Regions from separate parts of the Homo sapiens genome. Here region 2 is linked to region 1. Evidence: promoter capture Hi-C in 16 types of primary human blood cells and fetal thymus (Javierre and others, 2016). All regions are on one chromosome and are shown on one strand. Each heading gives the region's core, a stretch centred on a gene start or on the middle of the fragment in contact. The rest is flanking DNA. Distances are from core to core; before and after follow the strand shown. Region 1 holds the start of RAPH1 (Ras association (RalGDS/AF-6) and pleckstrin homology domains 1). Region 2 has its middle 66 kb from the start of CD28.

Evidence for each region. The method cuts DNA at HindIII sites, captures the fragments that hold promoters and counts their contacts. A CHiCAGO score of 5 or more calls a contact.
Region 2: a contact is called between a fragment that was not itself captured here and the fragment with the promoter of RAPH1 in region 1, in 1 of 17 cell types (M0 macrophages). The highest score is 5.0, in M0 macrophages.

The regions. Positions count from the first base shown.
Region 1 is chr2:203,532,577-203,538,879 of GRCh38, reverse strand. It overlaps RAPH1 (Ras association (RalGDS/AF-6) and pleckstrin homology domains 1), which reads left to right and starts at 3,579. Exons shown (of 14, transcript NM_213589.3): 1 at 3,579-3,769. RefSeq lists silencers at 3,431-3,500, 3,551-3,640, 3,711-3,810. The HindIII fragment of the contact is 18,695 bases long and covers 1-5,531 here.
Region 2 is chr2:203,637,222-203,644,023 of GRCh38, reverse strand. No RefSeq gene overlaps it. Among named protein-coding and RNA genes, the nearest start is that of CD28, 66 kb to the left of the region's middle. The HindIII fragment of the contact is 3,710 bases long and covers 2,428-6,137 here.

The DNA.
Region 1 (6,303 bases), core at 2,330-4,829:
GTTGTTGCCATCACCTCCTAATTTTCTCCTGCTCCAGTCTGGTCTTCTTGGTCTCCAAAACACAAACTCAGTTGTTCTGGAGCTAAAATACTTCAAATATTTTATTATTTACTACATTTCCCAGAGTATCAAATTCAAATTCCTTAGTTTAACAAGAGCCCCTTCATGAATGAAGCCCTTCCTACCCTTTCCTCCAACCTCTTTGACTCTTCTCTATGCCTGTTCTGACAAAATGGAATTACTTACTAATACGGTTTGTCTCTGTGTCCCCACCCAAATCTCATCTTATAGCTCCCATAATTTCCACCTGCTGTAGGAGGGACCCAGTGGGAGATAGTTGAATCATGGGGGTGGGTCTTTCCCGTGCTGTTCTCATAATAGTGAATAAGTCTCATGAGATCTGATGGTTTTAAAAATGGGAGTTTCCCTGCACAAGCTCTCTTTTTGCCTGCTGCCATCCATGTAAGATGTGACTTGCTCCTCATCACCTTCTGCCATGATTGTGAGTCCTCCCCAGCCATGTGGAACTGTAAGTCCATTAAACCTCTTTTTCTTCCCAGTCTCAGGTATGTGTTTATCAGCAGCATGAAAACGGACTAATACACTTACGGTGCCTCTAAAGCATGGTGATGCTTGGTGCTTCCACACACCTGCAGAGATATTGTTTTCTTCGTTTGGAATGCTTGTTCCCTCCTTCTTCTGGTTAGCTCCTCCCTATCATTTAACATTCAGTTCAAGAATCTCCCCATCAGGAAGGCTTTCCTGATCTGGTAATGGACTTCCAGTCTAACAATGACTTCCTTACCTGCTTTACCCACTAGACTGTATGCTTTTTGTAGGCAGGAAGCATCATGCCACGTCTTTCTTGTCTTTGTATTCCTGGGCCTTAATTGTAGCTTAATAAACTCTGATTGAATGAACGAATGATTTAATGGTTTAAAGAAACTGATGAGAACACTCTTTTCTCAATGACTGAAAGTGACCTTTTTTCTCTTTTAATTAACCTTGATCTTAGGCTAAGCACTTGGAGAAGAGTTGGCTAAGACCTATGTAAAAGGCACTCAATGGTCTATTTTTTTTTTTTTTCTGAGATGGAGTCTCACTCTTGTCACCCAGGTTGGAGTGCAATGGCAGGATCTTGGCTCACTGCAAGCTCCACTCCCAAGTTCAAGTGATTCTCCTGCCTCAGCCTCCTGAGTAGCTGGGATTACAGGCACCCGCCACCATGCTCAGCTCATTTTTGTATTTTTAGTAGAGATGGGATTTCACCATGTTGGCCAGGCTAGTCTCCAACTCCTGACCTCAGGTGATCCGCCCACCTCAGCCTCCCAAAGTGCTGGGATTACAGGTGCGAGCCACCACTCCTGGCTTCAATCGTCTATTTTTTTAAGGAGGTTTAAATGAATCATCTTCCTTGTAAGGTATCACACAGCCTAGTACATTTAATGACAATAGGATTCATTAAGTTTGGCACCCAGGTGTGTCTAATGTCAACAAACTTGGTCACAAGGGAAATGAGGTGAAAGACTAGATACATTTGTATAAAATTATCACTTATGAAAAATTTTAAAGCATTTATTAATTTATAAATACTTATTGTGCAAGATACTATGCTAGATATTGTGGGAGATACAAGGATGAATAAAGTGTTGTATTATATTCACTTTTGGAGGATAACTTCTTGAAATAATTAGGTGGCAAATGATGATTCCCACAAGAAAGGAAGAGAAGTCTAAAAGAAGTTGGTCAGCAGGATCATCTTCATTTATAAGAGATAGTATTATTCTTTTATTATTTTTATTTTTTATTATACTTTAAGTTCTAGGGTACATGTGCACAACGTGCAGCTTTGTTACATATGTATACATGTGCCATGTTGGTGTGCTGCACCCATTAACTCATCATTTACATTAGGTATATCTCCTAATGCTATCCCTCCCCCCTCTCCATCCCCCCAACAGGCCCCTGTGTGATATATTCCCTGCTTTGTGTCCAAGTGTTCTCATTGTTCAAGTCCCACCTATGAGTGAGATCATGTGGTGTTTGGTTTTCTGTCCTTGCGATAGTTTGCTGAGAATGATGGTTTCCAGCTTCATCCATGTCCCTACAAAGGACATTAACTCAACCTTTTTTATGGCTGCATAGTATTCCGTGGTGTATATGTGCCACATTTTCTTAATCCAGTCAAGAGATAGTATTATTCTATACAAGAATATTGACATACCTACTGAACTTAAAATACAAAAGGGCAGTTATGTTTCAAAAGTACAGATATCTCAAGTGTGAAAGGCAGCCAGTATCTGTATTGTATGGTTCTAAATACCAATTTGAAACAGATTGTGTACCAGTTTGGAACAGATTGTACAAAAAAGACTGAAACCACTTGAAAGTCCTCAAGAATATCAGGAAGTAAGAATGTAATTAACCAAACCAGGATTTGGCCCCAGGACAGAGAAATGAACACTCTCATTCTTAGAGAGGGAGCTAGGATTTCAGGAATGTACAGTCAATGCTTTGTGAAAATTTAAATAAATTCTTAGCAAGCAGATGGGAAGACATGAAAAAGCAATGTTCATTGCAACCAATTTCAGGTCACACTCCCAATTTCTCAATTGTTTTAATGCTGTCAACAAACTTGCTTTGCATGTAGCCAAGCAAACATAACTTAGTTCCATTTGTTCCTTTCTTTGATCAACTTTAGGTGAAGGTCAAAATAAGGACATACTTAAAATCTAAAAGTCTGCCGAAGTCAAGCCTGCATCTAAAGAGGCAGCAGCTGAGCTTAGCGATAAGGAAAAATGCCGACACCTTACTACTACACAATTCCGATGGGGTGGGGGGACAGAAATTAAGGAGGCAGGATTAACAGATTTCGAAGTTTAAAAAGTAAAGGTCATCGAAATGTCCCGTTCCTAAGTTTCCCAATACATTCCATGAAACTGCAGAGACTTTTTGGCCAAAATGGGATTTCCTAAAGAAGGGCCTCACAGATCTCAACGACAATGGTCCTGTAAGTGACCGAGCCAACCCCGGATGCGTTTCTGGAGTCTCTGAATACACGGACAGCGTATAAAGGTGGATGCGTACAGCTCCCTGACAGAACTGCTGGAGGCTGCTGTGCCTCCCAGGGCGCTAGGACAGAGGCTGCTGGGCCGGCTTCCTATGAAAGGCGAGCAGGGGGTGGGGCAGCACTGGGATTTTCCTCCCCACTCATTCATTCTCTGATTCACTCGTTCCTGTAGGCGGCTCACAGGGACTTGCGGAGGAAAGGCGAGGCACGAGCGGAGCCGCGGTTGAGTGCGGCCGGGCGCGGCCGGGCGCCTGAAGGGAGGGCGGAGGGCCGGCGCGGGGCGCGGGCTAGGGAAGGGCGGCGGGCGCGGCGGCCTGCGCCGGAAGTGAGTGGTTGGCGGCGGGCGGGGGCGGCGCGCGGTCCCGCGCGAGTCGGCCCTACAGTCGGCAGTCCGGCCCTCAACCCCGCCTTCTGCGTCTCGGCTGGACGCGAGCACACTCGGCTCCGCCGCCGCCGCCGCCGCCGCGGGGCGCTGCGGCCGCCCCGCCCCCGCTCCCGCCGCCGCCCGCCAGTCAGTCAGTCAGTCAGTCAGTCAGTCAGTCAGTCAGTCACTGAGCGCGCGGCGCGGGAGCTGCTGGCAGTCGCTGCGTCTCTGGCGAGGGAGCGCCGCGCCTGGGGAGGAGGCGGAGGCAGCGGCTGGAGGAGCGCGAGCGGCGGTTTCCTTGCCCGGGGCCGCGGGAAGGCCGACCGACTGCCGCGGTGAGTGGTTAGCCTCGCCCTCGGGGCCAGGGGGTAGGGAGCCGGCTGGGCGCGGGGCCGTGAGGCGCTCCTGCCGCTCCCGCCTCCATTTTCCCGGCGCCCGGCCCCGCCATCCGGGTGCGGTACGGTCGGCGGCAGCCTGGGGCGGGGTCGTTGCCAGGTTGGGGATCGGGCCGGGGCTGGCTGGACCGCTCCCGGCTGGTGGATGGAGGTCGGTGGGGCCTGGACTGCACCCTGCGCCCCTGGGGACCGCGACGGAGGGAGACAATGAGATAAGGGGCCGCCTGGGAGGGTGCGGTTAGGCTTCTCCGACCCAGCACCGGGGGCTGGTGGCCCGGGACCGCAGGGAGGAAAGGACTTTCCCCCGCCCAGCTGCAGAAACCAGCTACTGGATGTCGGGTTGCTTGGGTTTCGATGCCCCCATCTTTCATAGATGAGTTCAGTGCAGAGATTTTGAAAGGCGGGGCTCCTTCTGTGTCTTCTTTCTAATTAAACAGGATAAGTAATTGCTTCATTGCTTTTTAACCGCGTCTCCTCTTGCGGTCTGTATTATACATTCCCGCCGGAAATCCAAACTGCAATTCATGGGGGGGGGGGGGGGGTGGACGGAGGGAGGGGGCAGTGTGATAGTATTAGGATGCCTTCGTGTTAAGACAGGTTGAAAGATGTGGTTTTCTTAAGGCAGTGACTTAGGGTGTCCCCACTGTGTGAGCTGGAAACCGCATAAACCTTATTGCTTACAAGCTCGAAGACATGGTTTAATATGAAATAAGAGCCTTGAGGGAGGGTGTAAGTGTTACATGTGTCTTGCGTGTGTGCATTTCTTAAATTCTTTGGGAAGATCCGTTGGGGAAATCCGGGAGAATGGAAAAGTTCTTCACTCAATCTTCCAATAAGGGTTGATGTTGTCTGCAGCATTTCTCAGGGAAATGTGGAGAGCTGCTTATGTAGGTAAAGTCCACCGTTAAGGAACAGTAAAGGTAACGGGTTAGGGATGAGGCGTGATCGGATTATTAAAGAGTCAGTCCATGGGGATATTAAATTCAGCAAACATTTATGGAATACCTACTCTGTCAGTTAGGCTGGGTGACACCAGGTGAACAAGCATGGGGTGGTGGAAAGAGCTCTTCGGAGTGGGGGAAACCGTACGCCCTGGAATTGGCTTGCAATGTGAGTTGGATAAGCTATTGAACTCTGCAGTACGTTCCCTATCAGTAAAATGGGAATAACACCACCTGTTTACCTCCCCAGATGTTTTTCATGTAGATTAAATGAGATAATGTATGCAAAATGCGTAGCACCTTGCCTGGCATAGAGGTGTTTAACAGCACCTTAAATTCCTTTCCTCCTCGGGGTGGTTTTTTTGGGGGTGCGGTGCGGGGGGTTAGTGAATGTAGGTAAGTGTAATACAGTGAACTATATAGTAAAATGTTGAGGTATAGAATAGGAGAGCGAAGAAGAGAGATTAATTCTAAATTGAGGGAGGAATGCATGGAAGCCTCGGCATTTAAGTGAAACCTTTAAGGATGAGTAGGATTTCAGCAGATTCAGATGGGGAGGAGGACATTTCACATGGTGGTGCTATCCTTTGAGAGCCGAATTGAGGGGGAGGACCTTTGGGGGAGGGGCAAAATAGAGACGCTCAATAGCTTTTAACTCTTGTTGAGTCTGACCTTCAAAGATTGTCTCCGTTATTTTGCTTTTTGTGTGGTGAATTTCCCAGAAACCAGATGCAGCCCTACTCAAGTAAGTACAAAAAGCTTAATTCATGATTTTTTGGGTTAGACATTTTGTATAATTTAGATTGCTGTCTCCTGTTTGAATGTAATAAAGAATTATTTGTAGATGTTGCCTTATGATAAACGTTAGCTTTATTTGGTAGAAGCAGCAGCTTATTTTTCAGACTCAGAGGTCTCACTAAGATTATAGAGTATGTGACTGGGTGAAAGGAGTGGAGTAGTGGGCACTATTGGGTGTGTTTTCACAAATATTTAACTCTTTATTTTCCAAAGAGGTGTTTTTAACCATTGTCTTTGAGGATGATTATGTCTTTTGGTTTTGCTGCCCTTTGGTGCTCACCCCATAAATACTTACTAGATTGGCATCGTGGATAACTGTCACACTATTCACAGATTCTTGGTTACACATTGTAGAATCTCATGGCTTTGGTTGCCTTGGTTTGGAAGTAATTGAATGTCAACATTAGTATTGTTAATCCCAAACACTTAATTTTAGGAAAATTAATATTAGTGAAGCAAGATGTGACCTCAGGCAGATAACTTATCTTGGACTCTTAATTCCTTTACCTATAAAATGAGAAGTTTGGATTAGATCACTGCTTCTTAAACTGTTTCACTGAACTTGAGAATTTCAGAGATTCTGCAGATGTTTGACTTTAATCTCAATAAAAATGTATTTTAAACTTATAATAATAAAAAGTGGCCACTGTATGACGTACACTGTTTTAAACACTTTATATGTGATAATTTATTTAATTCTCGCCATAACCCTATGAAATAGAGTCTATTATTTGA
Region 2 (6,802 bases), core at 3,033-5,532, 100 kb before region 1:
TCTAAAAAAGAATAACATTATTGGACATTCTGAAAATTAAATGGAGAGGAAGTCGGTTGTTGCACAGAAGTGCAGTGTGGAGCTGGGCATGGTGGCACGCCCTGTAGTCCCAGCTATTCAGGAGGCTCACACAGAAGGATCACTTCAGCCCAGGAGTTCAAGACCAGCCTGAGCAACATAGTGGGACCCCATCTTTTTCAAAAACTACATTTTAACGAAGTGTGGTGGGCTAGGAGACCAGTGGATTTGACATGATCTTGGGCAATTCACTCAGCCTATGAGCTCTACTTTCTTAAACTTTTAACAGCCTCTTTTCAGAATTACGTTCAGAATAGAGTTGGAATGATCTTAGTTCAACGCCTGACCCTGTTATTTACCAAGTGTGTGTGAATTTGAGCAAACTTACCCTTTTTTTTTTTTGGAGACGGAGTCTCACTGTGTCGCCCAGGCTGGAGTGCAGTGGCGCCATCTCAGCTCACTGCAAGCTCTGCCTCCCGGGTTCACAAGATTCTCCTGCCTCAGCCTCCTGAGTAGCTGGTACTACAGGCGCCCGCCACCACGCCCGGCTAATTTTTTGTATTTTCAGTAGAGACGGGTTCTCACCGTGTTAGCCAGGATGGTCTCGATCTCCTTGAGAGGTGACAGCGTGCTGGTAGTCCTCACAGCCCTCGCTCACTCTCGGCGCCTCCTCTGCCTGGGCTCCCAATTTGGTGGCACTTGAGGAGCCCTTCAGCCCGCCACTGCACTGTTGGAGCCCCTTTCTGGGCTGGCCAAGGCCAGAGCCGGCTCCCTCAGCTTGCGGGGAGGTGTGGAGGGAGAGGCACGAGCGGGAACCGGGCTGCGTGCGGTACTTGCGGGCCGGCGCGAGTTCCAGGTGGGTGTGGGCTCCACGGGCCCCGCACTCGGAGCGGTCGGCCGGCACCGCCGCCCCGGCAGTGAGAGGCTTAGCACTTGGGCCAGCAGCTGCTGTGCTCAATTTCTCGCCGGGCCTTAGCTGCCTTCCCGTGGGGCAGGGCTCGGGACATGCAGCCCACCATGCCTGAGCCTCCCCCCCGCCCCCTCCGTGGGCTCCTGTGTGGCCCGAGCCTCCCCGACGAGCGCTGCCCCCTGCTCCACGGCGCCCAGTCCCATCGACCACCCAAGGGCTGAGGAGTGCGGGCACACTGCAGCGCCAGACTGGCAGGCAGCTCCATCTGCGCCCTGGTGCGGGATCCATTGGGTGAAGCCAGCTGGGCTCCTGAGTCCGGTGGGGACTTGGAGAACCTTTATGTCTAGCTCAGGGATTGTAAATACACCAATCGGCACTCTGTATCTAGCTCAAGGTTTGTAAACACACCAATCAGCACCCTGTGTCTAGCTCAGAGTTTGTGAATGCACCAAATGGACACTCTGTATCTAGCTACTCTGGTGGGGACTTGGAGAACTTTTATGTATAGCTAAGGGATTGTAAATACACCAGTCAGCACCCTGTGTCTAGCTCAGGGTTTGTGAATGCACCAATCGACACTCTGTATCTAGCTACTCTGGTAGGAACTTGGAGAACCTTTGTGTCCACACTCTGTATCTAGCTAACCTAGTGGGGAGGTGGAGAACCTTTGTGTCTAGCTCAGGGATTGTAAACTGCACCAATCAGCACCCTGTCAAAACAGACCACTTGGCTCTCTGTAAAATGGACCAATCAGCAGGATGTGGGTGGGGCCAGATAAGAGAATAAAAGCAGGCTGCCCTAGTCAGCAGTGGCAACCTGCTGGGGTCCTCTTCCACCCTGTGGAAGCTTTGTTCTTTCACTCTTTGCAATAAATCCTGCTGCCGCTCACTCTTTGGGTCCACACTGCCTTTATGAGCTGTAACAGTCGTCGCGAAGGTCTGCAGCTTCACTCCTGAAGCCAGCGAGGCCACAGACCCACCGGGAGGAACGAACAACTCCAGACGCGCCGCCATAAGAGCTGTAACACTCACCACAAAGGTCCGCAGCTTGACTTCTGAGCCAGCGAGAGCACGAACCCACCGGAAAGAAGAAACTCCGAACACATCCGAACATCAGAAGGAACAAACTCCGGACACGCCGCCTTTAAGAACTGTAACACTCACCGCGAGGGTCCACGGCTTCATTCTTGAAGTCATTGAGACCAAGAACCCACCAATTCCGGACACATCCTGAACTCCTGATCCGCCCACTTCAGCCTCCCAAAGTGCTGGGATTACAGGCGGGAGCCACCGCGCCTGGCCACCCTTTTTATATTTTCTCGTCTACAAAAAATGGAATATGAATATCCACTCCTTCAAACTATGAAACTACTACAAGAAAAAATCAGAAAAATTTCCAGGACATTGGTCTGGGCAAAAATTCCTTGAGCAAAAACTCATAAAAGCACAGGCAACCAAAGCAAAAAATGGACAAACGGGATTACATCAAGGTAAAAAGCTTCTGCACAGCAAAGGAAACAATCAACAAAGTGAAGAGACAACCCACAGAATGGGAGAAAATATTTGCAAACTACCCATCCGACAAGGGATTAATAACCCGTATATATAAGAAGCTGAAACAACTCTATAGGAAAAAATCTAATCCAATCAAAAATAGGCAAAATATTTGAACAGACATTTTTCAAAAGAAGACATATAAATGGCAAACAGGAACAGGAAAAGGTGCAACAACACTGATCATCAGAGAAATGCAAATCAAAACTACAAGGAGATATAGCACCCCAGTTAAAATGGCTTATATACAAAAGACAGGCAGTAACAAATGCTGGTGAGGACGTGGAGAAAACGGAGCCCTCATACACTGTGTACAACCACTATGGAGAAAAGTTTGGAGGTTTCTCAAAAAACTAAAAATTGAGCTACCATATGATCCAGCAATCCCAGTGCTGAATATATACCCAAAAGAAAGGAAATCGGAGCCAAGCGTGGTGGCTCACGCCTGTAATCCCAGCACTTTGGGAGGCCGAGGCGGGCAGATCACGAGGTCGGGAGATCGAGACCATCCTGGCTAACACGGTGAAACCCCATCTCTACTAAAAATACAAAAAATTAGCCAGGCGTGGTGGCGGGTGCTGGGACTCCCGAGTAGTCCCAGCTACTCGGGAGGCTGACGCAGGAGAATGGCATGAACCCGGGAGGCGGAGCTTGCAGTGAGCTGAAATCGTGTCACTGTACTCCAGCCTGGGAGACAGAGTGAGACTCCTTCTCAAAAAAAAAAAAAAAAAAAAAAGGAAATCGGTATATCAAAGAGATATGTTTGTTGCAGCACTGTTCACAATAGCCAAGATTTAGAAATAACCTAAGTGTCCATTAACAGATGAATGGATAAAGAAAATGTGGTACTCATATACAATGGAATACTATTCAGCCATAAAAAAAAAATGAGAGCCATTCATTTGCAACAACAAGGATGGAACCAGAGGTCATTATGTTAAGTGAAATAAGCCAGGCACAGAAAGACAAACATTGCATGTTCTCACTTATTTGTGGGATGGAAAAATCAAAACAATTGAACTCATGAACATACAGAGTAGAAGGATGGTTACCAGAGGCTGGGGTTGGGTGGGGAAGTGGGGAGCTGAGGGGAGGTGGAGATGGTTAACGGATACCAAAAAATAGTTAGAAAGAATGAATGTGTGCTACTATTTGATAGCACAACACGACGACTATAGTCAATAATAATTGTACATTTTAAAATAACTTAAAGAGTATAATTGGATTGCTTGTAACTCAAGGGATAAATGCTTGAGAGGATGGATACCCAATTTACTCTGATGTGCTTATTTCACTTCCATGCCTATATCAAAACATCTCTGGTACTCCACAAATACATTCACCTACTATGTACCCACAAAAATTAAAAATTAAAAGAAAAAAAAGAAAATGGTTGGGCACAGTGGCTCACACTTGTAATTCCAGCACTTTGGGAGGCCGAGGTGGGCAGATAACTTTAGCTCAGGTGTTCAAGACCAACCTGGGCAACATGGTGAAACCCTATCTCTACAAAAAATGTAAAAATTAACTGGGTGTGGTCAAGCACTCCTGTAGTTCCAGCTACTTGGGAGGCTAGGGTGGGAGGATCGCTTAAGCCCACGAGGTTGAGGCTGCAGTGAGCCATGATCCCACCACTGCACTCCAGCCTAGGCGACAGAGTGAGATCCTGTCACAAAAAAAAAGAATACCCACTCCACAGAGTTGTTGATAATTATATAAGAAATTATATAATACACAGATAGAAGGTGCTTAATAAATGTTAGCTCCCTTCCTCCCCACCTCTCCTTTTCTGCATCCCTGTCCTATTTCTTTAGAAATGAAATTTAACACTTTATAATACCTTTAATATATGATGATTTTAGTTCACTTTAAAAACTTTTGTATTGAGGTATAATTTACATACAATAAAGTATGTAAAGTATAAAAATGACAATTTTATATATGTGTATACACCTATATAATCACTACTCAGAGCCAAATATAGAACATTTATTTATAGCATCCTCCCAGATATTCCTGCACGCCACATACGACCAATACCCCTCCAAAGGTAACCATTATTCTGCCTTCACCATTATTACTAAAGTATTTTTAAATTATGTCAAAAATAAATGACAGTATATCTATACTAAGGAATAAAAAAGCACTAGTTAAAACAAAGGAAGTAGAGCTATACATGCCAACATGGAAATATCCCAAGATATATTGTTCTGTATTACTAAGGTAATTGAAAATTAATAACAGAAATGCTAATGGAAAGAGGTAGATGGAAAGGAGAACAGAAATATGATGGGTAAAGCTCTTTTAGTCTTTTTGAAATCTTCATTAAGCCTGGCGAGGTGGCTCACACCTGTAATCCCAGCACTTTGGGAGGCCTAGGCTAGCGGATCACTTGAGGTCAGGAGCTGGGGACCAGCCTGGCCAACATAGTGAAACCTTGTCTCTACTAAAAAAAAGAAAAACAAAACAAAAAAAAAAAACAAAAAAAATTAGCTGGGTGTGGTGGTGCATGCCTGTAGTCCCACCTACTTGGGAGGCTGGGGCGGGAGAATTGCTTGAACCCAGGAGGCAGAGGTTGAGTGAGCCAACATCACACCACTGCACTCCAGCCTGGGGGACAGAGTAAGACTCTGTCTTGGCCAGGCAGGGTGGCTCATGCCTGTAATCCCAGCACTTTGTAAGGCTGAGGCAGATCACAAGGTCAGGAGTTCGAGACCAGCCTGACCAACATAGTGAAACCCCATCTCTACTAAAAATACAAAAATTAGCCAGGTGTGGTGGCACGTGCCTGTAGTCCCAGCTACTTGGAAGGCTGAGGCAGGAGAATCGCTTGAACCTGGGAGACAGAGGTTGCAGTGAGCCAAGACCACGCCACTGCACTCCAGCCTGGGTGACAGAGTAAGACTTCGTCTCAAAAAAAAAAAAAAAAAAAAAAAAATCCTTACTAAGCATGCCTTCACTTTGTGGCAGAAGTATCCAAACTGAATTCAGTCACCTAAATTGGAAGCATAGCAGGAATCATTGAGAGACCACATATTTGCAGAAACAAATGTACACCTCTCCCTCTAACTTGGACACCACCACATCCTGAGCTGAAACTCTTCATAATCCTTGCAGGGCCACACCTTTTCTATCGCCAGCCAAAGGGCCAAAATGAAAGACAGAGAGGCCTGCGGGTTCAGATCACTGCAGCCTTGCTGTGCAATAATATAGATGCCAGCACTGGGGTTTATCCGACTCTTCCCAAAAGTCACAACCAAATATAGTTTCTCCTGAGATGTAGTGAATAAGCCTGGCCTAAAAGATTGTGGTGGTCAAAATCAACCTAATAGGGCAAGGCCTTACCTAGAAAGTTCTGAACCGATCTAATTTGCATCTAAACCTTCAAACTAACTTTTTGTTAATATCTGGATTTAAATAGTAAACAACTAAATGAGTTCAAATGAAGAGGAAACAACAGGTTTATTTTTCAAACTTATGCAAACGGTTTCTGAAACCACCTTCACACTCCCTTTGCAAGTCAGTGTGAATGAATGGGTGGGCACACAGTAGTTGCACTTTAATCCATTTTCTTTTTCAATTGCCAGCACGAGGCTTGAGAGCTTCCTTGTTAACAATTCTCACAGGCCAAACCCTTCTCCAGTGCAATGTAAGCTTCTTTCCTCTTGTCCTGTTGTTTGTGGAGATGAGAAACAACCAATGTTTTTCTGTTAATGACCCTTCAAATCAGTTGGACCTTTCTTCTCTAAGTTAACTAACCCTACAGCTTTCTGGCCTTTCCTCATAGCCTTTATTTTCCAAGCCTTAATTACATTTTTGCTCTTCTCTGGAGCTCTGCCAGTTCCCCACAACCTCCTTAAAGGGGAGACACAAAGTAGCCACAGTTGAGGTCAGACCAGTGCTGGGAAAAGCTGAGAAGCCACTTCCTGCCCTTTGACTTTTATGCATCCCACTATCTTACTGACTTTATAAATAAACAGCACTCATTGAACTAATTCTAGCAGGGCTGTCATTCAAGCTGAAGCCCACCTTTCCCATCTTGCATCTCAGCATTTTGATTTCGTCCCGTAAACTTTTTGTGCTTACCCCTTTTGAGCTTTTCTAATTCAAAATGTCTCACCCAATGAATTGTCTGAGCCACTTTACATGCGATCCCTCCTTTCTCTACTTCCTCACAAAAACTTTTGTAAATTCAGGAAGTGCCTTTCCAGAAGCCAAGCCAGTGATCAAAATCTACTAAGGTTTCCTCTCTCCCCGACACCATCCCCAAGGCAAGTACTGCTGACACTGTGGTAATAAAAACTACCGTTTATTATGCCAG